Linked DNA regions of Homo sapiens: all the other regions are linked to region 1. The links are contacts of gene promoters, found by promoter capture Hi-C in blood cells and fetal thymus (Javierre and others, 2016). All regions are on one chromosome and are shown on one strand. Each heading gives the region's core, a stretch centred on a gene start or on the middle of the fragment in contact. The rest is flanking DNA. Distances are from core to core; before and after follow the strand shown.

Region 1 (3,243 bases), core at 306-2,805:
AGCAAGCACCCCTTCCCCCTCTCCCCCTCCCAAGTGTATGGCTGAGCCACACGGTGGAGACACATGCGTCATCCGGCTGAGGGGTGAATGCAGGCTCTTCTGGCGGCGGGCTCAGGAACCGCCAGGCAGTGGTGTCCTAGCTCACCTGGAGGGGTCGCGGGGTGAAGCAGATTTTCTGATGGGGGAGGTCCAATAAACTACAGACCCTCTCTTTCTGTATACCCACTCAGCAGGTATGGAAACTGACTCGTGGCCAAAGAACGCCAGCTGCATCCCTCCCCCAAGGAGCCAGGACAGCGTCCACCATGCCCCTGACTCAGTTCCCCAACTCTCTCTCGGGTGCAGGCGAGACTGCGCTGCACTTAGTGGCGGAGATAACAGGTTGGCCAGCCAGGCCTGAGAAACGTCCCCCCGCTACCTTGCGCAAACCCAGCCCCCTCTTCGAAACGCAGGTGGGCAAACAACCCTCAACCTCGCAACAACTTTGTGTATTTCACCGCCACCACAGGGCGCACGGCCTCAACTTCTCTTCACTGCGCTCCGAGGAGGGAAGCAGGAAATCGAGAATAAGGGGCAGCCCACAGACCACCCTCCTTTTCTCGGGGCGCCCCCCAAAGGCGCGCCCTGCCTTACCTTGTCTGACGGCCTTGAAGGTGACGGCCTCCTTGCAGCTGTCGATGACCCCCAGCACGTCATAGCGGGGCAAGCCGGACACCCGGACCCCCTGCACCTCCAGAAGCAGCTCCCCTTCGCCCAGCCTCGGGCCCTCGCCGCCGCCGGGAAGCCCCGCTGCCTCGACCGCCGCCACCGCTCCGACGTACGGAAACTCCCCGTGCTCCGCGCCTCCCAGCACCGTCACCCCCAGCTCGCCCTGGGGTCCCCGCTTCACGGTGCATTCGTGAACCCTGCTAGTCCAGTGGTTCTTCTTCTGGATCACTTTGGACATGATGAGTTACACCCCTCCTCCAAAAAAATAAAACGAGAGACAGGTGCCCCCCACAGCACGAGCCCCCAAGCCTCCGCTTGTTCATGGGAGAAACATCTCTCCCCAAATCACAAAACAGGAGAGAGAAACTTGGCAGCCTCGCTCCCCTGCACACGCTCGCGCACTCAAGCCATCATAAAACAAACTTTCTGGGCTTCCCCGCGAGCCCCGCACAGGCGCCCGCGAGCTTTGTTTGCATTCCGGTGCCTCTGGGTCCACGTTCCGGCGCCCGCCCGTGCTCTCCCGGACCAGAGTCCACTCTGCGCCGCTCGGGTTATTTTTTTTTCCTTCCTTCCTTTCTCTCTTGCCTTTTACAAATGCGGTGCCTCCTCTTTGCCTCCCGCCCGGCTCGCCTCTCCTCGCTGGCAGGCTGTTACTGAGGGTGAGGGAAGCCCTTCCAGCCAGTTGCCGGGAGCCCTGAAGACGCGGTGGCGGGGCGGCGGGGAGCAGGGCGGGAGGTAAGTGCTCGCGGCCCCTTTAAGCAGATACAAAGGCTCGGCTTGTTTTGTTACAGTTCATTCTATTCCGCGCCGCGGAGCGCAGCGGCCGGCGACAGGAGACGCGCGCGCATGCGCCCCGCGGCCGCCAGCCGGCCGGCCCACCCCTCCCCTCCTCCCCGAAGGGAGAGATTCCAACGTGCTTCCCGATGGGTCCTAAAACCGACCTGCCGGGAGAAGGCAACTCCCCCCCAACCCTTCCTGAACCCCTATCCTCTCTCCTTTTCTTTCAGTGCCCTGGACTCCGCGGATTCCTTTGGGGCTGGAGGGCCGCACACGTGTTTTACTCCAACTGTTTGCAACTTTTGAAACCCGGGCAATCTGGCTTTGGCATTTGAAAACCATTTCAAACAGGTGGGGGTTGGGGAGGCTGCCACACTCACCCTGGCGCTCACACTCACGCACACGCGCACGCACTCGCGCCGGCCCTAAGCCTCCTAACCGCCCTCGGCCAGTGGCTGGCCAGGCTGTCGGTCACCCAGCCCGGCTGGTTCGCCGCCCCCCTTGCCGCAGGTCCCACTGAAACCCCCGAGACCCGCCCCGGGGCGCTCGCCGCCTCCCTGCCTGCCCTGCGCTTGCGGGTTCGGGTCCTGGCGCGGGGTCTGCCAGGGTCTCTGCGACCCGGGGGAGGGGGACGGTGGGATCCTCCGGTTCCCCAACTGGGATCCCTGTGCGGGTCACACGCGCTCTTACACACACCCGCATCCTTAAACTTTGGGACCAACTTTTTAGGACACGGGAAACTACAGGCAAGAGAGAGAAGCCATGGTGCTAGTGTGGGTTCAGGTATTCAACCAAAAAAGAGATCCCTCTAGCTTTTCAACTGCCCTGCCAGCAGAGACTGCTGGACCCAGTCAATCATCTGCCCCGGCCTCAAGTTCCTGGCAGGGCCGAGAAGCCTGCGGACCTACTCCGGGGCCAGGAGATAAGGATCCCCGCCGGGCGCGGACATGCCCTGCGTCCTGGCGCCCGCGGGGGCGTGAGAGAACTCGGAATTCGCAGCCCGGGGGTAGCTGCGGCCTCCGGAGGTCGCCCGGGGGTGCGGATGGAGTGACTTCTGTCCCGGCGAGGTGGCGGACAGAAAGACTCCCATACCACAGGAAGGCTGCCCTTCCCAAATACTCCTCAAATCAGGCTGCTGAGTAGTCTCCCCAGCAGTTTGTTTTCCTCTTTAGTGATGTATAATTTTGTTCATCTTTGGTCACAGGAGAGATTCCAAGAAATGAGGGGGGTACGTTGAAACGATGAAGAAAGGATGGACACAGCAGTCGAGGTTGAGAGGTAGGCTCAGGGGTCCACCCTTGTGTGACCTTGAGCAAGCTTGGTGACCTCCGCGCCTCCGTTTCTCGCTGATCAAATAAGTAGAACAAGACCTCACAGGGTTCTTGGAAGTATTACGTGGGAAAACACTTATAAAGTGGCAAATAATAAAAACTCATTATATTCTTAATAGTAGTATTACTATTTGGGAAGAAAATTGGGAAATCATTTGGGGATTCAAGTTAGTAAGTATGATAATTTATCCTCTCCTTTCTAGAACTTAGAAAATATGGGCATACTTTGTGTGTTTGTTTTTTGATGGTGGTGGTGGTGTTTTTAGAAACGTGGTCTTGCTTTGTCCCCAAGCTGGAGTGCAGTAGCTCGACTAGCTGATTGTAACCTCGAACTTCTGGACTCAAGCAATCCTACCACCTCAGCCTCCTGAGTATCTGGAATTATAGGCACATGCCACCATGCCCAGCTAGTTTTATTTTTTTGATT
Region 2 (3,243 bases), core at 204-2,703, 120 kb before region 1:
TATTTAGGCTAGCATTATAATGCACATTTAGAACAACTCATTCAAGGACAAAGTCAATCTCTTAGGCAAATTGTGTGGTAAATGATGTTGATCAGTCCCTTGCAAGAAACTGCTAATCATATGACCAGTCTCACTTAGCCTCTTGCCACACAGAGGTCATGAAAGGATGCTGGTGCCATCTCATGGTAATGCTCAGAGCCCACAGGAGATACAAATGCTAGGACTGTTCACATTTGAACAGCAGCTTGTACATATTTAGCATTAATTCTGTTAAATATTTTTAAATACTCAATTCAGAAGCATAAATCCAAACACCAACGGGATGCTAACACATCGCTCCATGCCAAACACCTTGCAATGTGCACAGTCATTTGCCCTCTAAAATTCACACCCGTTCAAGTTACTCTTCTCACCTTGTCTTCCAGCAGATGATCTGCACACTTGCCCCTTTTTAGACACTGGCTGCTTTCTCCTACAGAAAATTTAAATTCCAAATTGTTTGGGTCTTTTTCTTTTTTTAAAATCCCTGAAGAGACTGGACTGGGAAGAGGAAAAACGATGAATAACACACAGGTGCTTCCTACCTAATTAAAAGAAAAGTTTACAGCTGCACTGGTTGTGAATCATCCCTCTGGGTTATCCAGTGTATCCTTCAAGTGGCACGTAGTTCCATCAAGAGCCATATTCCATATGCTTTCCTGAAAACTGCCTTCTCTTTGCTTGGTAAAATGATGACTATCAGGTAACTAATGGCATTTTATACTTCCTGGCTTTCCTCTCTATGGACAAAGCAGTTCATTTGTGCTTCCTTATTTCTAAAAATAAATAACCCTGAAAAAAGGACTCAACTTAGTGAATCAAGCTTTGATTTATGTTGAAAAAGCAAGATGCAAATTTGTGTATTTATTATCATTTCTGTGTAAGAAATACATATACATTTATATGATACATATATAAAATGTGAATATATATAATATGTATATATTTATATACATATAATTTATAATATTCAATACACAGTATATTATATATATATATTCATCTATTTCTTTCTTTTCTTTTTTTTGAGACAGAGTCTTGCTCTGTTGCTCAGGCTGGAGCGCAGTGGCACATTTTCAGCTCACTGCAACCTTTGCCTCCCGGGTTGACGCGATTCTCATGCCTAAACCTCCCAAGAAGCTGGGATTGCAGGCACATGCCACCACACCCAACCAGTTTTTTTGTATTTTTAGTAGAGACGGGGTTTCGCCATGATAGCTAGGCTGATCTCAAATTTCTGGCCTCAAGTGATCTTCCCGTCTCAGCCATTGTATTAGTCTGTTCTCATGCTGCTTGATAAAGACATACCCAAGACTGGATAATTTATAAAGAAAAAGAGGTTTAATGGACTCACAGTTCCATGTGGCTGGGGAGGCCTCACAATCATGGCAGAAGGCGAAAGGCACACCTTACGTGGTGGCACACAAGAGAGAAAATAAGAGCCAAGTGAAAGAGGAAACCCCTTATAAAACCATCAGATATTGTGAGACTTTTTCACTACCACAAGAACAGAATGGGAAAAACCACTCCATGATTCAATTATCTCCCACCAGCTCCCTCCCACAACACATGGGAATTATGGGAGCTACAATTAAAAATGAGATTTGGGTGGGGACACAGCCAAACCACAATCGCCTCCCACAGTGCTGAGATTACAGATGTGAGCTACTGCACCTGGCCTATATACATGAATTTCTTACTTAAGTACATGTATCATACACACACTAACACACACACACACACATACACACACACACACCCTGCCACTACCTCCAGAGAAACCAAATAATGAAATAATGAGGATAGGAGAAGACAGTTGTCAGGGATAAGTTCTACTGTTCTCATTGTATACTTTTTAAAATCTTGGATAATCATACACGTAATATATTAATGGTCCAAAAAAGTTAACTTTGACTTCTTTAAAAATTTGTCTGGACTGCCAGGTGTTTTCTTATATTTTAAATTTATAATGTCAAAGGTAATTGAAATAATCTGTTTTTATTTCTTAAGCTTATCCTTAGACATTTCCACCTTCTTACACATAAAGAGAGAAACATCTAGAAAGATACATATTATACCATTAACTCTAAAGGATGAGGAGTTACATGGGGCTACAGGGTTTCCTTTCTCCTCTATCCTTCTACATCACTAGTAGCACTTTTGAAATTGAAAAATAAAACCAACAATGAGATACCACTACACACCTATTAGCAAAGCCAAAATCCTAAACACTGACACCACCAAATGCTGACAAGGATATGGAGCAACAGGAACTCTCACTCACTGCTGGTGGGAATGCAAAATTATATTGCCACTTTGGAAGACAGTTTGGCAGTTTCTTATAAAACTAAACATAATCTTACCACACAATCTAGCTAGCAATCATGTTCCTTGGTATTCAGCAAAGGAGTTGAAAACTTATGTCCACACAAAAACCTGCACATGAAAGTTTATAAAAGCTTTATGTGCAATTACCAAGTCATCCTTCAGTAAATGAATGGATAAAAGAACTATGGTACATCTAGACAAGGCAATATGATTCAACACTAAAAAGAAACACACCATCAAGCCATGAAAACACATGGAGGAAACTTACAAATGCATAGTGCTAAGTGAAAGAAGCCAATGTGAAACGGCTACATACTATATGATTCCAATTATCTGACATTCTGGAAAAGGCAAAACGATGGAGACAGTAAAAAGATCAAAAGTTAGGGGAGTGGGGAGATAAATAAGTAGAGCACCAAGAATTTTTAGGCGGTGAAACTAGTCTGTATATTATAATGGTGGACACGTGTCATTACATATTTGTTCAACCCTATAAAATGTACAACACCAAGAATGAACCCTAATGTAAACTAAGGTCTTTGGGTGATAATGATGTGTCAATGTAGGTTCATCAATTGTAACAAATGTACCACCTTGGTGGGGGACGTTGATAATGGGGGAGGCTGTGCACAGGCTGGAAGCAGAGGGTACATAGGAAATCTTTGTACCTTCCTCTCAATTTTATTGTGAATCTAAAAATGCTCTAACGAAGTCTATTGTTTTTAAACAGCTACTCAGAAAAATAAAAGAATGAAACTAATTTTACAGTTACAAAGAGAATATCTACACACTGAGGTAGGGTCAGAATCAGTAAACATGAATTCCTATCATTAAGCATTTTTATTAAATACCTAGAAGGGCATCTGTAGTTTAAGA
Region 3 (3,243 bases), core at 253-2,752, 100 kb after region 1:
AACTGTGAGAAAAAAAATTCTATAGTTTATGAATTACCTAGTTGGTGGTATTTTGTGAGACCAGCAGGAATGGCCTAAGACACTCATAGAGTCATTGTGAGAAGGGAATAAGATGCTCTGTGTGACTGTGAGCTTCCTGAGGTCAGAGTGTGTCTAACTCATCTTGTTATCCCCCAACTCCTAATACAGTTCCTAGCACCTAGGACTCCATAAGAGCTTGTTTTCTTCTTTCCTTTGCAAAGCTAGTTAGTATAGTCACATGAACATTTTCTTTTTTCTTTTTTTTGTTTTTTGAGACAGTGTCGCTCTGTCACCCAGGCTGGAGTGCAGTAGCCCAATCTTGGCTCTCTGCCACCTCTGCCTCCCAGGTTCAAGCGATTCTCCCACCTCAGCCTCCAGAGCAGCTGGGATTACAGGCGTGCATTACCACACCCAGCTAATTTTTGTATTTTTAGTAGAGACGGGGTTTCACTATGTTGGCCAGGTTGGTCTCGAACTCCTGACCTCAAGTGATCCACCCGCCTCAGCCTCCCAAAGTGCTGGGATTACAGGCATGAGCCACCATGATCGGCCCACATGAACATTTTCTATGGCATTATTAAACAGAGAGTATTGCATGTGAACACGTAAAATAAACATGGGCATTTATAATGTTTTATTTTTCCTATGGTGATCAAAGCTGTTCAATGTATACATCGTATACAATGTATACATCTGAAGTATGGAAATATGCAATGAAGGAAGAAAAAAATCATCCCACAAATCTCACCCCCCTTCAGACACATCACACTCCAGGGCAACCATTCTTAATTTGATAAATTTCTCTTTTTTTCTATAATTAAAAATATTATACACTTGAGATCCTAGTACACATGCAATTTTGCAACCTGTTATTTTCTCCTAAGGTTAGATTTTGCTTGGCACTCAAAATCCATCCAGCATGATTTTTATTGTTTGACCTACATTGGGGCCTTTCTTTCCCATCTGTCATGGGGTTGGCCAACAGAATGTCAACCTGTGAATTCTCTGGTAAAATGTTTCCAAATGACAAATCAGACAATTTGGTGGGAGGATTGATGCAGGGGGAGGGGGGGTAGGGATGTATTGGGGTAGGGGAAGAGGGAGATGAAGGGAAGCAGTTAAGGAAGGAGGCATGGGAGAGAGCCAGAGGTTCCTCTTCACAAACCGTATTGGGAGGTCCTGGATACGGGCATCGGTTCCTTGGCAAAGCTTGGAAGCCACCCATTAATCTTGTACTCCCTCTGCTGGCTTTGCTGAGCACAGCCACTGTGTGATTAATGTGAATAGTAATGGTCCTGAGTCCACTGAAATCCCCCGTGATGAACAGGAAAGACAAACAGTCATTCTTTTTGAGATTCTTTTTTATAAGATCCAAGTTCACACTAACAGGAGTAGATTGATTGATTACTTATTCAGTTGAAACGAATTCAAATTGCTGCCCCACCCCTCCTGTCCTCCTCCCCTCCCCATCCTCTTTTCCTCTGCCCCAGGAGAATGAAATTCTAAAGTTCTCAGCTTTTCCTTTCAAGATTCTTATGATTCTCCTGATGATCTCACTTCTCTTTACTGTATTTTGCTGTTGCTTTTCTCTGTTTCACCTTCTGTGCCACCCCGCCCACCTCCTTGATAGTGCCATTTGTGAATAAAAAAGGAATGGTGAAACCCTGCCTTTGCTTTGCAAAGCAGGGTTGCATTAGCTTCTCTAATTCTGCAGCCTCTTATTTCTCCATTTTTGCTTAATTCAAAGTTGTTAAAAGCTTTTCAAAATAGGTGTATGCTCTACTTGACAGTTGTGAGAAAACAATGCCTCCAATAAAAAGAAAGCAAGATACATTTGCAATTTCCTTTTCCATAATTTATAGTGATTTAGCTCCCCCCTATCAGGAGATAAAAATTTCTTTGGGAACAAGTTTCTTTTAATAGCATCATCTGAAGCAGCACACATTTCTTTCGCGGTCATTAGAGCTCCTAGCCTACAAAACAGTGACTGAAGATTGAATTAGATTTAGAGGGAGGCTGCCTGTATCACATAAATAAACAGGGCCCTGGCCATTTCATTACAGAACTTAGATAAGCAGTACAGATGGTCGGCTGCAGTGTTACACATGCATAACCTATTTAAAAGATGACATTATAGGGTCAGAAGCATTAATGTACTCACAGTGTCATTTGTTTACTCTACTTGAGTTACTTCTTTCACACTAAGCGCTAAAGCCGTGGGTCAGGCAAATTATTGCAGGCAGTAATGCAGACTAGATGAAAAGATAAGGGAATTATTGAATGATGAGAGCATAAACACTAAATTAGTTTAAGGATTTATGGCCCCAAGCTTAACCTAATAGATGTTATTTGCTATTGATCCTTCTCAAGGTGTTGTAGGTGACAAAAAACCCAAAAACCTCATTCGTTTAAGCACATCAAGAAAGGTAATTAACTTACTAACTTACTGGCTCATGGAACTGAGAGATCAGAGCTTCAGGTATGGCTGGTTCTAGTGCTCAGAATGGCTGTCAGGTCTGTTCTCTTTCATGGTGGCTTCATTTGCAGGATGCTCTCATTACTGGTGTTCAGATGCTCCATGCCTATGTATTAACACTTGCAAGTACAATGGAAAGAGGTTCTTTGTTATTCTAGCAAAAGATCAGGAATTACATCTCTTGACCAATTTTGGATATGCGCCTTTTCTGAACCAATGATTAGAGGTGGAAGAATGGAATGTGTATTCCGTTGAGTCATGTGCTCATCCTGTGAGCCCTGAGTTTAGGGCAGGGGTTGGTGGAGTTTGTGGATAGCATCACCAAGACAGCTAGACTAGGAGAGGGTGGCTCCTCAAAGAAAAAATCCACATGCTACTAACACAGGAAGGTGGTGTGGAAGCCAGGTAGGCAAAATGGGATTTCTAATCCTTCAACCAGTGCACTTCAGAAAGGATCATTCACTAGAACCTTCGAATGAATTCAACTAACATACAGGATGCACGCTGAGGTAAAAACTAGAAAATGTCCGTAAATCTGTTCATTCACCTGAGGTTTCTGTTCCAAGTTAAATCTATTAGCAGGCAGGACTAGCAAATATTCTTCATAAGTAAAACTACCTTATCGGCACCTGTCTTTTTAATGCTACCACTCTATGTTTACACTTTCAAATTTCCCAGTTTCTCAGATGACAGAAGGAATTCTTACTGTATCACATCCCTCCATCTGTTGAATTAAACAAAATGCA

The links. Contacts are between HindIII fragments. The CHiCAGO score rates a contact against its expected background, and 5 or more counts as called.
Region 2: a fragment that was not itself captured here is called in contact with the fragment with the promoter of MAGI1 in region 1 in 1 of 17 cell types (endothelial precursors); the score reaches 5.1 in endothelial precursors.
Region 3: a fragment that was not itself captured here is called in contact with the fragment with the promoter of MAGI1 in region 1 in 1 of 17 cell types (endothelial precursors); the score reaches 8.7 in endothelial precursors.

What each region holds. Positions count from the first base shown.
Region 1 is chr3:66,037,363-66,040,605 of GRCh38, forward strand. MAGI1 (membrane associated guanylate kinase, WW and PDZ domain containing 1) reads right to left here and starts at 1,556. Exons shown (of 23, transcript NM_001033057.2): 1 at 634-1,556. The coding sequence starts at 946. LOC105377128 (a long non-coding RNA gene) reads left to right here and starts at 1,591. Exons shown (of 2, transcript XR_001740440.2): 1 at 1,591-1,836; 2 at 2,690-2,932. RefSeq lists an enhancer at 1-571 and a silencer at 1,524-1,643. The HindIII fragment of the contact is 5,984 bases long and covers 1-2,800 here.
Region 2 is chr3:65,915,019-65,918,261 of GRCh38, forward strand. All of the region lies in intron 1 of MAGI1 (membrane associated guanylate kinase, WW and PDZ domain containing 1), which reads right to left. All of the region lies in intron 1 of MAGI1-IT1 (MAGI1 intronic transcript 1), which reads right to left. The region is part of intron 2 of MAGI1-AS1 (MAGI1 antisense RNA 1); the gene reads left to right. Among named protein-coding and RNA genes, the nearest start is that of MAGI1-AS1, 23 kb to the left of the region's middle. RefSeq lists a silencer at 536-830. The HindIII fragment of the contact is 1,187 bases long and covers 861-2,047 here.
Region 3 is chr3:66,137,561-66,140,803 of GRCh38, forward strand. It overlaps a transcript of SLC25A26 not described here. Among named protein-coding and RNA genes, the nearest start is that of SLC25A26, 82 kb to the right of the region's middle. The HindIII fragment of the contact is 548 bases long and covers 1,229-1,776 here.